3 separate regions of the Homo sapiens genome follow, and all the other regions are linked to region 2. Evidence: promoter capture Hi-C in human tissues and cell types (Jung and others, 2019). All regions are on one chromosome and are shown on one strand. The core of a region is centred on a gene start or on the middle of the fragment in contact, and the rest is flanking DNA. Distances in the headings are between cores, read along the strand shown.

What was found. The method cuts DNA at HindIII sites, captures the fragments that hold promoters and counts their contacts. A contact is called where the count stands out against the background at its distance.
Region 1: a contact is called between a fragment that was not itself captured here and the fragment with the promoter of PTGDR in region 2, in 1 of the 25 tissues and cell types used here (mesenchymal stem cells).
Region 3: a fragment that was not itself captured here is called in contact with the fragment with the promoter of PTGDR in region 2 in 1 of the 25 tissues and cell types used here (mesenchymal stem cells).

What each region holds. Positions count from the first base shown.
Region 1 is chr14:52,554,037-52,558,752 of GRCh38, reverse strand. All of the region lies in intron 1 of GPR137C (G protein-coupled receptor 137C), which reads right to left. Among named protein-coding and RNA genes, the nearest start is that of GPR137C, 3.6 kb to the right of the region's middle. The HindIII fragment of the contact is 3,807 bases long and covers 615-4,421 here.
Region 2 is chr14:52,265,479-52,269,846 of GRCh38, reverse strand. PTGDR (prostaglandin D2 receptor) reads right to left here and starts at 2,149. Exons shown (of 2, transcript NM_000953.3): 1 at 1,187-2,149. The coding sequence starts at 2,032. The HindIII fragment of the contact is 10,952 bases long and covers 1-4,368 here.
Region 3 is chr14:51,817,701-51,822,382 of GRCh38, reverse strand. LOC101927598 (a long non-coding RNA gene) reads right to left here. Exons shown (of 8, transcript XR_002957605.2): 5 at 4,101-4,334; 6 at 2,259-3,550; 7 at 1-79. Among named protein-coding and RNA genes, the nearest start is that of GNG2, 41 kb to the left of the region's middle. The HindIII fragment of the contact is 6,488 bases long and covers 59-4,682 here.

The DNA.
Region 1 (4,716 bases), core at 1,269-3,768, 290 kb before region 2:
CCAAATGTGCCAATTTTTTGTATTTCAACAGTGTTTAATTCATAAATGATTAATTATTGTGTACTATGTATTTAATAATTCTGACATCTGCAATTCCCCAGTGTGATTTTTTATTCTGAACCCATGTTTTTTGGAATTTTATCTGTCAGAAGTCTGGGTTTAAAGTACATTCTTCCACAGATGCTTTGCATCTGCTTCTTACAGCTCCTTGAGGTTAGTATCAAGCAAGGATAACTTTATGTTTTCAAGTTAGATCTCCTGAAACCCCCCAGTCTGCTCCTCTCAATCACAGAACTGATGTGAATTTAGGCTTCAAACTTGTGCAAGAATGAGCTTATTTTGCATTCCCAGGGAAGACTTATTTACCAATTTGTACCCCCTATCTAGCTCTGAGGACCTGCTTATTTTCCTAGCTGATCCACTGAAGGTGTACACTTAAAGGATTCTGGCATTATGCTGGAGGGGATGAAGTCTTTTATAAGACCTCACTGCAAGGCACAGCCTGCAACGACACCTCCCTACACCTTCAACACACAAAATTAAAATCTGGGCAGTAGGCTAACAGGAGGCAGCTGAAAACCACTCCTGCCCTACCCCCAAGACACACATTTGTGTGATATTTTATCATTCTGCATTTTTTTTTTTTTTTGGTAGTTTCTGGCCTTTTCTTGCCAGCCCAATTATGCACTGAAAAAGACTGACTACTCTCTGCAGCATTTCTCTGAATCTCTGGTAGGCCAGATGACCTGGCTTCTACTTCTTTAAACCAAGAGTCATATGCAGTGGATGAAAGGTGAAGAAAGAGTTTGCTAGACAGTGGAAAAGGTTTGAAACCATGTGAAAAACGGGAAAGCAAGTTAGAAAAGCACTATTAAAGAAGTGATGTATCCAGGAAAGTTCATGGTATAGAAACAAATTACTTGATAAGACTTCATAGCACCTGAGCTATACAATAGTATCACAACTGATACATATTAGCCATTTAATTTTGGACAAATCACATCTCTTTCTATTTCATGGGGGTTGTGAAGACAAATGTTACAAAGTGCTTTGAAAATACCAATTTCATAAAATATAAGGCATTATAATCATGTCTTTTGTTACAGGTATGTATCTGAAACTTCGGCTTCACAGATGATTTCAGGAGAAATAAGATCAAGATAGTGAAAAAATTTAGTAGATTCAGACAAAAACAGTTTATAGTCAGTTATGGATAAAAGTCAAACATTGAACTAAACCAGTATTTCTGGTAAACAGTAACTGACTCAGGATATGAGACTCATCTTACAGACTTTTCTATTTTGTAGAATTTGTTGAAACTAAATTAGCAAAGCCTTAATTAGTATGGGCCATTTGCCATGATATAAAAAGTTTCATTAAACAAAACTCTATATTGTATGAAATCTTTTAGGCAGAAAATAGATTCCAGACAATACATAATTTACCTCAAATGTTCATCAAAATAAAGTTAACCCCCATATTTTAGATAACTATTTTCTAAATTTTGACCTTTTTATAAAGTGTCATTCAATAATATAATCATCATTGTTCTAGTTGCTGGAGATAAAAATATGTAAAATATTCCTTCTTATCCTCAAGGAATTTCTATTTTAGGTGGTAGAAATGTGATTTCAACTTTTGTGGGAAATCAAAGAACAGAACAAAATCAAATGAACCTGTAAGTTGACTTGCATGTTATTTGAAGTATTACCAATATAAGAATATATCTACTGGTAGGGACAATAATAGCATCCATAAATGTAAGAGTTAAGATTTTGAATTTAATTTTCCTATCTGTTTTGGCATTGTAATTAAGTCACTGTACTTTATCCTGATTAAGCAACTGGCACTCCTAAGACCAAACTGAAAGTAAGAACTTCAATATGTTGAAGATGAACTCATTGATTTTGGCATGCATCACAACACTCCAAGATGGTATACCATCAACTCTCATTAAAAAAAAAAATTTAGATTCAGGAGGTTCATGTGCAGGTTTCTTACATGGATATATTGTGTGATGCTGTCAATTCTCCTTTTAAGTCCTTCAATATGTTCTAATGGTAGATAGAATCAGTTTTATCAGATAGTCTGTTTCAAATATTGAAGTCTTCTCCGGTAAAACTCCAGGAGTGTGAACCCTTCTCTGGAAAAGCTCTTGTCCTACTGATCCTGCCAGAAGTTCAAAATGTGTTTTTAGATTAGTGTACAAGGTGGCTTTTCTTTTTTTTTTCCCCCTCTCTCTCAACTATAGGCTTCCAGGAGGTTAAGTATGAGACACTGAGAAGCTTAACTGTTTAAGAAAGGGCTACTTTCCCTCATCTCAATTCCATTCAAGTGTAGACACCAAGAAAAAAAAAAAAAGAAAAAAGGGGTTGAGGCATTTCTTAACTTTTCAAAAACATGAGTTTTAGAATATCCACCAAAATGTATTCAAAGTAGTAGAGTTTGTTTTACTTTTTATACTGATCCACGATTCTTTATAACTAAGTCCTTAAAGCTACTCTTAGTGAGAATCAGAAAAAAACAAATGCTTTAAACAAGTGAAAAGTAATATGGAATTGGTATTTAATACGGCATACAGCAAAGACAGAGTGAGTTGGTAATCAAGACACACGACTATTCAAAAAAGTTATAGGGGCTTTTGGTTAAAAAAATTAAACATCAGTTAAGTCTTATATTTATCACCACATAGGCTTTCCCTACCACTTTGCTATAATATGAAGAACTCACTAGGAAAAACTTCATTAATTCAGAATGATCAATGGGAAGTATACTTGCAGTTATCTGGAACTGACATAAAAATTTGAACTAAAATACTCTCTTAAATACAGGTTCCTGGAGATTTTCTCTAATGAAAAGAGAAATGATTTCTGGTTAAGATATCTCCTTTCAAACAGGCTTTCAAAAAATTGACAATTTGTTCTCTTAAGTACAACTGTGTCCTAAAATTGTTAATTTCATTATAAAAAGAAAGGATAGACAAACAACTCACACTCTTTTTAGCAGGCATTACAAAGGAAAAAAGCTTTATCCCAGCTTCTTTCCAAATTGTATTTTTCAGGTTAATAGAGTTTTATCGTTTTTAAAAAAGCATATTACACAAACATTTAACAGGAAGACTTTCAGATTTTAAATTCTTCCTCACTAGCTTGGAATATTAGCTCAAAGTCTGAAGACCCAATCTAGATACTCCGTGTATTCTATGCTATATAAGCATACCTTCAGAATTTTGAGCTTAAATATATCTCCTTTTTTGGATAGTGTTTACCCACTTTGTGCTTACCTGGGGGAGCTACTGACTGGGAGAGGGTAAAAAGGGAAACTTCTGGGACACGGAAAATGCTTTATATCTTAATCTGGGTGGTGGTAACATGGGTGTATACAGATATAAAATTTCATCTAGGTGTGCATTTAAGATTGTGGACTTTATTGTATATGTTATACCTCAAGAAGTAAAAAGAGTGTTTACCCACTTTATGAAATGCCTACCAACTATTTTACAGTGAATCATTCATATTATTTTGTAAATCAAAATATATAGGGAAAAAACAAGTCATCTGATGCCCCTGGCATAAAAATCGCTAGTCACTTTCAGGTAAACATCTGAACCTGGAGTAAAAGCTTCAGCGTTGAGAAGTCACTAACGCACTATCTGAAATGGTGGCAGGAAGATTACAATGTATCAGTTTAAGTATAAAGGGTAGAAGTGTTATAACAGCTTAAACGACAACTAGATTAGAACACCCTCAAATAAGTGACACGACTATGGCATCATTTGATTTGTGATAACCTATGCTTCTTATTTCCGCTTACTGGTTTGCGTTTTTGTCATTGTATTGTTTGGACTTTCAAAGGATGGAGAAGGAAAATAATAAAAGTTAAATTAGTTTTGTTGTTTTCAACTATTGTTTTTAGTGTGCTAAATAGCTGACATTATGACTGATTATAAAATTATGCATTCTACTTCCTATTAAAGGAGAAAAGAGTTGGTTTATGCAGGAAATATAAACACTTAATATACGTCATTTTTTTTTTTTTTACTTTTGCTTGGAACTACATTAATTCCATCACCTCCAAAAAAGCCTTTGAGAGGATTAGCTGCATAGGCCAATATTATTCTATATTAGTCTGTATTAAGCATATGATGTCACCTTGCTTCCTCCCCTCCTCAAGCTTTTCTTTTGGTGGGAAGGAGGACTTTTTTGGGGGAAAGTCTTAAAATATTATGGCTTAAATACCACAAGCTGACACACATGATTGACAACCTTACACTCCCAAACCTGTTTGAAATGGGTCAAATACCTAAGCGCTGCAGAACAATGCAATCCAACCAGCAATTCCCCATAAAAGAGAAAGGGGGTGTGATTAGGTTCCAGATATTAAGCAAGTTATTGCAAAAACAGTTTGGTGGTTTTGTTTCTGCAATAGGCACAGGTTAAGCTAGTATTTTTTTCTCTTAATTAGCTCCAAAAAAGACTATGCTAATAGGAGGTAGGATAAACCGCTAAAGCACGAAGCAACTGGGGCAAACATTAAGGGCTTTATGGAGGTCCTTATCCTGATCCTCAGCATTGGTTATTGATCATCAACCCTGCTGGGGAACTATCGAACGAAATTTATGTGAGGCTTATCGAGCCACAGGAAAGGAGATGCAGGAGGGAATATAAGCTTCTAATAAAAGAAACGCAGCAACAATAGCAGAGGAACAGCTCTGCC
Region 2 (4,368 bases), core at 900-3,399:
ATCTGCGCCTATATCTACATTTAGATAGATATAGATTTATGTATTTGTTTATTTATTTTGGGGGCATACTGTTCCCACCCCTGCATGCTGATGCCCCAGACTTCTTTTTCCGCAAGCAGTAAGGCCTTCATTTAAAGGAAAATCGCTTTGTATTTCCCTTTCATTCACCATTGAAAGTAATATCCAAAATGGCTACATTCTGAGAAGAAATTTAACAACTTTCCTATTCACAGAAGTCTCAGGATTTCGAGAACGTGGGATTGGCAATGGAATTTCTGTAAGTATTGTTTTTGTTGAACAGGTACCTTGGGAGAAAGGAGAGGAGCAGCACTGAAAATGTTTCCTCAAGCCTCACCTACTCCCAGGTGTCTTGGCGGGGACTCCAGGAACAAATGCCTTCAAAATGAGGAGATAATTTCATTTCCATCGCTATCCTCATTACCAAATTGAAACCGGAGATAATGGCTTTCATGTCACCTCACTTGCCAAGATACACTCAAAACCCGTCAAGTCAGGTTGTCAAAACGACACCAGCAGCTAAAACATACAAAGAGCCTCGGCCTCCATCGCCACAATCCCTGGCGGATGCAGCACCAGAAACAGCAGCCGTGGCGTCTCAAAGTTTACGCACGCGTTTTTCAAAATTAAAACTATGCATCTGCAAATCACTCTGGCTGGCTTAAACCTCTTTTTCCCTTTCTATGCCAACACCGGGGAGAAGATCGTCCCAGACGCCATTCGCCCATTTCTGATACCACTGAAGTCATGAGCAGGTCTAACAAAATAAAACATCACCCAGCCGTCGGGAAGTAGAAGACTCCTGTTGCCAAGGAGAAACTAAGTTCTGCTCCTCCTAAGGCGCAAAAATGACCTCGAGATCTCCCCAGAAGGAAGCAGAGAGGAGGGAGTTCTGCCACATGGAGAGGGTTTTGCTGGGCTAGGGAGACACCGCCGGGCTCAGCCTTTCCCTTCCTTTCTCTAACTTTCCCTCATTTCGCTCCGCAAACTGAGTTATATCTCGGGGCTGTGGAAGGAATCCAATTTGGGGAACTCAGCAGCAAACCTTCCTGGCCCAGGGCGCAGCTCGCCTGGCGCCGCGTCCATCCCGATCCGCTCCACCCTTCCCGCCCCGCATCCGCGGCCGGACAGTCTCAGTGCCCTGCTGCCTCGGGGCCCGGGGACTCACAATTACGGGCAGAGAACACATAGTGAAGAGCACGGTCATCAGCGCCAGCAGCAGGAGGTGATCCAGCTCCTCCAGGGGCTGAGGGGACGCTTCCCTCCCGTCCGCGCGCGGCTCGGCACAGTCCCTGGTGCAGGAGCGCGGGTGCCGCTGCAGCCGCCGGTGCATCGCATAGAGGTTGCGCATGGCGCCGAGGTTGCACAGCACGGTGGCGAGGACCAGCAGCGCCATGAGGCTGGAGTAGAGCACAGAGTACCCCAGCACCGACAGCGAGCCCTCCTCGTGGACCATCTGGATAAAGCACCAGGTGCCGGGGCAGTACTGCACGAACTTCCCGAAGCCCATGAAAGGTAGCGCGCAGAAAGCCAGGGAGAAGGCGCTCACCACCGGGGCCACCAGTGCGCCCAGGCGCAGGGTGATGTGCCGTCGGTAGAAGAAAGGGTGCCCTAGGGAGAGCCAGCACTCCAGTGCCATGGCCAGGAGTTGCAGTGTCGAGGAGAGCCCAAAGAAGGACATGAAGAAGGCGAAGGCTTGGCACAACGAGTTGTCCAATGCGGGCGCAAGCACCCGCAGACTCCGGTTCTGAGCGTAGGCAGCCAGCACCACCGGGCTTAGGAGGCACTTGCCCAGCAAGTCGGTGACCGTCAGGCCACACACCAGCATGTAGAAGACCGAGGGCAGCGGGCGCAGTGGACGCCGCGAGCACCACCCCAGCCCCGAGCGCGCCAGCAGCCCCAGGGCCAGCAGGTTGCCCAGGAGGCCGGTGCTGAAGAGCACCCCGCCCATCACCGCCGAGTTGCCTTTTTCCACAGAGGTGGTGTTCTGGCAGCGGTAGAACGGCGACTTCATGGCGTGCGGGAGCAGAGGGCTGGAGTGAAGGCTGCGGAAGGGCGAGGGCCCCGGCGCCCGGGTGCTAAGGAGCCCCCGGCAGCTCCGCGCGCGGCTCGGGCGGAGAAGCTGCGCCACAGAAAAAGCTCCGAGGGCGGCGGGGTGTTCCCCACGGCAGGAACCTCCTATCTAAACTCGCGGGTCACACCCCTCTTTGAGAGGCGGGACGCTCTGCAGGGTGAGCGCCTGGCGCTGGCATTGAAGAGCGCGGAGCAGGCCAGTGAAGAGCTCGGCCCTGACGCGCTGCGTTCTCAGTAGAGACAGACTCTGGTGCCGAGTCGGAACGGCAGGAGGAAAATAGCCAGAATTCCAAGCACCCAACACCAGTCCTTCTAGCGAGGCAAGAGAAGAACTACTAAAGTGGAGGGGAAATTAAGCAGCAGCCACCTGAGAGGAGGGCAATGGTGCTGGTGTTTGAACTGGGGTGGCCAAGAACTCGAAAGATGAGCGAAGAGGGGAGGCTGAGAAAGGGCTTCTACCTAGTTGTCTTGAATTAGCTAGTCAAGGAAAGGTAAAGATAACTCACGTCTGGAAAGCCCCTGAGCCTTAGCTCCTCTTCTCTACTAGATCAGCGCAATTTGGGGCATTCACGGTCATCTCCATTGCATAGGCGAGGAAACTGAGGCCTTGGAAAGTTAAGTGATCTGCCCGTGGTGACAGAGCTACAGAAGTAGCAGAGCCGGACCTCTCACCCGATCTTCTATTTTGGAGTTCATCTGTCCTGTTCCCATGACTCCTCCTCCCAAGAAGTTGTCCAGATTTCAGGGAAGTGGTTTGTGGGAAAGCCAAGAGCCGGTGTTGGTCCTGGGTGCCATGAATCACATTGACTGTAGAGAGCTGGGGGGAAGGGCATGGTTAGCAGCACTGTTGCTGTCATCAGATAGGCCTGGGTTTGAGTCCAGGTTCTGCTCCTCACTGTGTGTGTGACCTTATGGGACTTGCTTAGCCTCTCAAGCAGTAACATCTATCTGGCCTGCTTGGCTCTTCTGAGGCATAGAAATAACACGTAAAGAGCAAGTACATAGAAAGTGCTCAATTCATGCAATCACCATGATTCTTATTTGATAGAAGGGTGTTTTGGTAGCTGATGTTTAACTGCAGTTTTTAGCATGGATTTTGAAATCAGAAAATGGTAGATTTGGCATAGAGCTTTCTCACTCCTCTGATTTGTGGCTACTAGAAAAAATTTATTCCTGTTTGGGCTTTGACTTGGCTGCATCATAAAGGCAAGGGAGTTAATTGTGATAAGCGTGATTTTATATCTTTAACTAGCATTCGATGCCCTGTGAGAGAAATTGGCTTTGAGTGTGGAATCTCAGTGGGATGACTAAGGTTTTGTTATGTAAGTGAGTAGATGATGCCTGGGCTTGAAACGGCTCATTTTTAGGCCTCATGCCAGTTCTGATGGACAGACTCAGGGAAAGAGCAAGACCCTTGGGATTTAGATGTGAAAGCCTGAAGGGTAGACAGAGAGGCTGCCTCCAGACTGAAAGTCTGGCCAGTAATTCAGGCCACAGGGTGGAAAAGAAGAATCTAAGCTTGGAATTAGATAGTTCTGAACTCCACCACTGGCTGTGTGACCCTGGGTTAGTTGTTCAACCTAATGGAATATGAGACTTATGCTGAACTTGTGGGGTTGTTGTGAGGTTGAGAAAACTTGAAGTGCTTTGGCATAGTGTAATAATAATAATAAGAGCTAATATTTATTGGTCCTGATGCAGGTTGGACACTCTCTAAGCCTTTCACTTATATTGACTCAATAGAAGGCCTTGTATAGAGTTAGTTCCCTTGTCTTCTACCTACTCTCTCTCATTCCCATCTCTAGCCCCTAGCACATAAGAATGGGTTTAGAAGAGCCCCACTCGACTTAATGAAGTGAAAGGAAGAGCAGGCCCCATAACCAAAAGACATGAGAATTTGATGAAAGCTGTGGTCTCCTCCATAGACAGACAGACACACACACACACACAGGCACACACACACAGACACACACGCAGACACACACACACACACTTTACATCAATCTCAGGCTGTTCACCATTTCCTGAAGCCCTTCTATGGTACCCAGAGGAGACCCAATGGACACTAGCTTAAGAATCCTTCCTCTAAAAATATTGCATGGGTTGTTCTTCTGAAGCATACCTACTTCAATTCTTTGCAGCTTTATTTTCATGCTACAGTGGCTTACAACTCCGTATTTATCCTAGGAACCCTAAGATTACAAATACCTTTTAAAGAAAACAACCCCAAAGTGTGACTGTTGGGCCAGCTGTGGGTCCTTGATAAGGTTTACATAC
Region 3 (4,682 bases), core at 2,053-4,552, 450 kb after region 2:
TTGGCCTACCAAAGCAAAGCAGAGGTCCTTGGCAAGTGGTGCTAGGTCTTATACTTGAGTTTCCAGACAAAATCCAGATCTGTTAACCAAAGGCAGACAAACGTCACATGTCCTGACACTCTTGGTCTACACCCGTGGTGAAGGAAATGGCCTCATTAGTGATTCCTCTCCTATTGAAAAGTCACCCCAACTTTTGAGTAAACTTATGAACTGCACACATTAATAAGGCAGCCTAGGATTTTGCAGACAAACTTGCATTCCATTTATAAAAAGTTTTTATATTCTTTAAAACATTTAGCAATTTGCAGAGAAATGAGTCATTGTTTAACACAGGGTCAGGATTGAGGTCTGGGTATGAAATGATGCAAATTAAAATCACATCTTCCCCATCTGCTCTCTCTCATTCCCATCTCATTGTATTTATAGACCTCCAAAGAAATGTAAGTGGCAACATCATATCTAGGCATTGGTAAATCAGTCTTTCATATGTGTGAATGCTCCTGGGCCTGAGAGATTCCATAACCTCACTCCTGCTTTTTCTATTTGTACCTGCACCCACCAAAGATATTTCCAGAAATATAACTCATTCCTGCCACCAAGGCCTAACTCATACTTGGCCCACCCTCTCCCCACCTCCTGGGATGCCATAGCCTTCACTCACGTTCTAAATTACATTATAAGGTTTACTTCATCAGAAACATTATTCTGGCTTCCTTTTAGCAATCTTGTCTTGAAATGCAATTCAATGCAAGATATTATAATGTTATAAAAATGATGCTCACCCAACTGCTCAACTCTCAGGAAAAAAAAATCAAGTTAGATCTTTTTTTCACATGGCATGCCAAAATAAACTCAAGTGGATAAAAGCTTTAAATGTAAAAGTACAACAAAACATAAAAATAGTAGAAGGAAAGGTAGCTAAATATTTGATTTATGGATGGAGAGGCCTTTTCTAAGGTTAAAATCAATAGAAGAGATTTATGGATAGAGAGGCACTTTCTAAGGTTAAAATCAATAGAAGAAACCATAAAGGAAAATATTGGGTTGACTACATAACCATTAAAATCTCCTATATATAAAAATAATCATTAAGAAAATTAAAGAGTAAACACTAAGCTAAGAAAACATTTGCGAAAAATATTAATAAAAGTTAATGTTCCAATATTGAGAACTTATATAAATCATTATGGAAAATGCTTAACAGTTCTATAAAAAGTAATATCCCAAAGGGCATAAATAATTTATTATATAAAGCCAATTTATAAATGACAATTTAAAAATGCTGAAGTCTTCAATCACATTTTAAGTGAAAAACAAAAATTAAAGCAATGGTCAGATGGGATTTTTTTTTTAAAGATTTGTAAGTCGGATAGTAACTTCCTAGTGTTGGGGGAGAGAGTTCAGTGAGAAATACCTTCTTCTATGCGGTGGGAGGACAAACTGATAAAAACTTTCTGGAAGGCATCCATCTATTTTGACAATATATATCAAATGTCTTTTAAATATTCACATAATTTGACAGATTAATTCCACTACCAGAAATTTACATTATGAAACACAGACATGTATACATAAGGATGTTATTTGCAACAACTTGTAACAAATTGGAAACAGCCTGAAAGTCCAACGTTTGAGGAGTAGTTGAATAAACTATGGAATAACCATAAAATGGAGTTTTATGCAATTATTACAAGTTATTTGGGAAATATTTTAAATTGCACAAGAAAATGTTTCTAATTTCATAATGCCTGAAGGAATCTGCAGCAGTATAAAATGTAGTTCAGTTATGGAAAATGCATTTTAGAGAGTATAATAAACTTGTAAAATATTAATAACGGTACTTCTGAGGAGTGGGATTATAATTGTTATTTACTCTTTATGCTTTCTGTATTTATCAAATTATCTCCCATCCATAGCCATCTGTTGTTTAAGAAGGAACAAAAACATTTTTCATAATAATACAATAAATATTTAACAATATAAAAAAATTAGGATATTCTTAGCAGAAAAGCAGGATTCAAAATAAGCGTAGACCAGGCACAGTGGCTCCTGCCTGTAACCCCGGCACTTTGGGAAGCTAAGGCAGGAGGATTGCTTGAGGCTAGAAGTTGGTGGCTGCAATGATTGTGTCACTGCATTCCAGCCTGGCCAACAGAGCAAGACCCTGTCTCAAACTAATAATAATAACTAATGATAATAATAATTGCAGTATGACTGACACATGCAATCTATACATGGGGGATTCTGGGATGACTCACTGGCTTCTGGCTTATGAATGCTGGTTTCCTTTAAAAAGAGAGAAATTCCATTTTGGGGTGAGAGACTGTCTCCTGTATTGACCATGTTGAGTTCGGTGTACCTGCAGGATATGTGAGTGAAGATGTCTCAAGTTGTGTAAGGTTTGAAAGACAGAGAGAGAGAGAGAGAGAGAGAGAGAGAGAGAGATCTGGGCTAGAGGCAAAAGCAGAGATGTGAGCTGTAAATTTGAATGAAGGACCAGATAGAACGTAGAAAGTGGAAAATGGAACCTAGAGCTTTGGACAGGGCTCAAAGGAAAACAAGCATTTAAAGAAGAGGCGCCTGATAAGAAACCCCCAAAGAAAAAACACACAGGGGAGAGTGGGGTGCAGATGTCAAGGCAGAGAGAGCTGCAGTTAATGGTGCCAAGTGCCATGGCGAGTGCAGAGAATAGAACTGAAGTGCACTGCGGGGCTCAGAGCATCTGTTAAATCTATGTGAGGAGAAAACAAGGCAGGAAGCCAGCTGGAGAGATGGGGAAGAAGACAGGGTTGCGGGGAAGGTGGGGTGTTGGGATTGTTAAGGTCCAGGCACGTTCCACTAAAGTCAAGAGGAAACCCACCATGTGCCAGGGATTAGGGTAATGGTATAAAGGAAAGACATATATATTTTCTGCCCTGACTGAATTTAAAATGTTATGAGAAACACAGGAACACCCAAATAATGACCTACTTGTCTATCAACTTCTTCCAAAGTTAATTTATGGTCACAAAATGTAAAATGTCAACAGAATGGCGGCCAGCAACAGATGCCTGGCCATCTGAAACCTGAGCTGAGAGCCCACCCAAACTCACATAATGTCATTGTCAAAGAGGTGCTGTCCTCTGTCACATCCAGTCACACCTCAACTGTTCTGCACCAGACCCATTTAATATTCTCTATCCCCAGCCGCTCTGGATCCCTGCCAGGACAATATTGTCATCCAAGAGCTCTGTCTGACACATTGATCTGTGCTCTGAACAGAAAAGTGGTGTCCACTTAAAGGACAAGTAGACACAGATCTGCTCACTGCAGGTGTGCCTGCCATGATTTCTGGAAGCTTTCTTGGAACTGAAGTGAGCCCAGTAATGCAGCCAGGCTGTGACGCAGCAGGCAGGTAGACAAGATGTGGGTGTGGGTATAGGCAGCTGCAACTTCCCTTCCATTGTGATGCTTCTGAGCGCCCGTAATAGTCGTTTGCATACTGCTCTTGGTACTGACATCAGGTTGTAGTTGCGGGGTATGTTTTTCCTTCCCATGTAAATAGTTGACCCTTGTAAGGAAGAGAAATTAAATCTACTTTTGCATATGCCCCTCAGATTCCAGCACATTTTACGTAGCGTTGTATACAGCCCATACCCCTTTTCCCCTTTTTCCTGCTTTGAATCCAGACATGATGTATGAACTTGAAGCCCACCTTGGAACCACAAGGTCACAAGCATGAGGGAAAGGTCAAGAGCCTCACCACGTTGCTGACCATGACATCATCAAGCCACTGAATCTGTGCCAGCAGCGAGCTAGGGCAATAATTTATATTATGAGAGAGAAATAATTTTTTGGCTTAAGCCACTTGTAAGTCAGGTTTTCTGTTTCCTGCAACTAAATGTAAGCTACCCAGCCAGCATCCACTCCCCTGACTTCCACACTAGAAGAACCCCAATTTGTTCAGCACTCCATGCCTTCTTCACTCAGCTAGGTGCCTCAGGTGACACTGACCCCATCTCTAGCTTGGGGGTGGCATTGATGGCCAAGGGTAATTTAATTTCATTTTCCTTGCCAGTATCCAATTAAGGAACCAATGAAGCATGGAGGGAGGGTGAAACCTGATGGGCATCGGGGACAAGGTTCCCACGATACAGCAGCAATAAGAGTCTCTTTCGTCTTCCTGTGAGTATTGTCGTGTCCAGCTGGAACTGTTGCATCCTACTTCCCTGAGGACGAGGCTGACATAAAAGATGGTGGGGTGAAGAGGCAAAAATAAGCTGGATCCTTGTTGACATTCTTGCTCTGTGGAATCAGCCAGCCTTGATGCCTGTGTAGCCCCTGCATGTCCTGTTCTGCAACAATGTAAATTTATTTTTATTTACTTCTTTTTGAGACAGGGTCTTACTCTGCCTGGAGTGCAGTAGTATGATCACGGCTTACTGCAGCGTCAACCTCTTGGGCTCAGCCGAAACTCCCACCTCAGCCTCCCAAGTAGCTGGGATCACAGATGTGCACCACCACACACAGATAATTTTTCAATTTTTTGCAGGGATGGTGGTCTCCCTATGTTGCCCAGGCTGGTCCCGAACTCCTAGGCTCAAGCAGTCCTCCCACCTCGGCCTCCCAAAGTGCTGGGATTACAAGCATGAGCCACCACACCCTGCCAAATTCTTTATTTTTTAATCCAGTTCAAGTTGAAG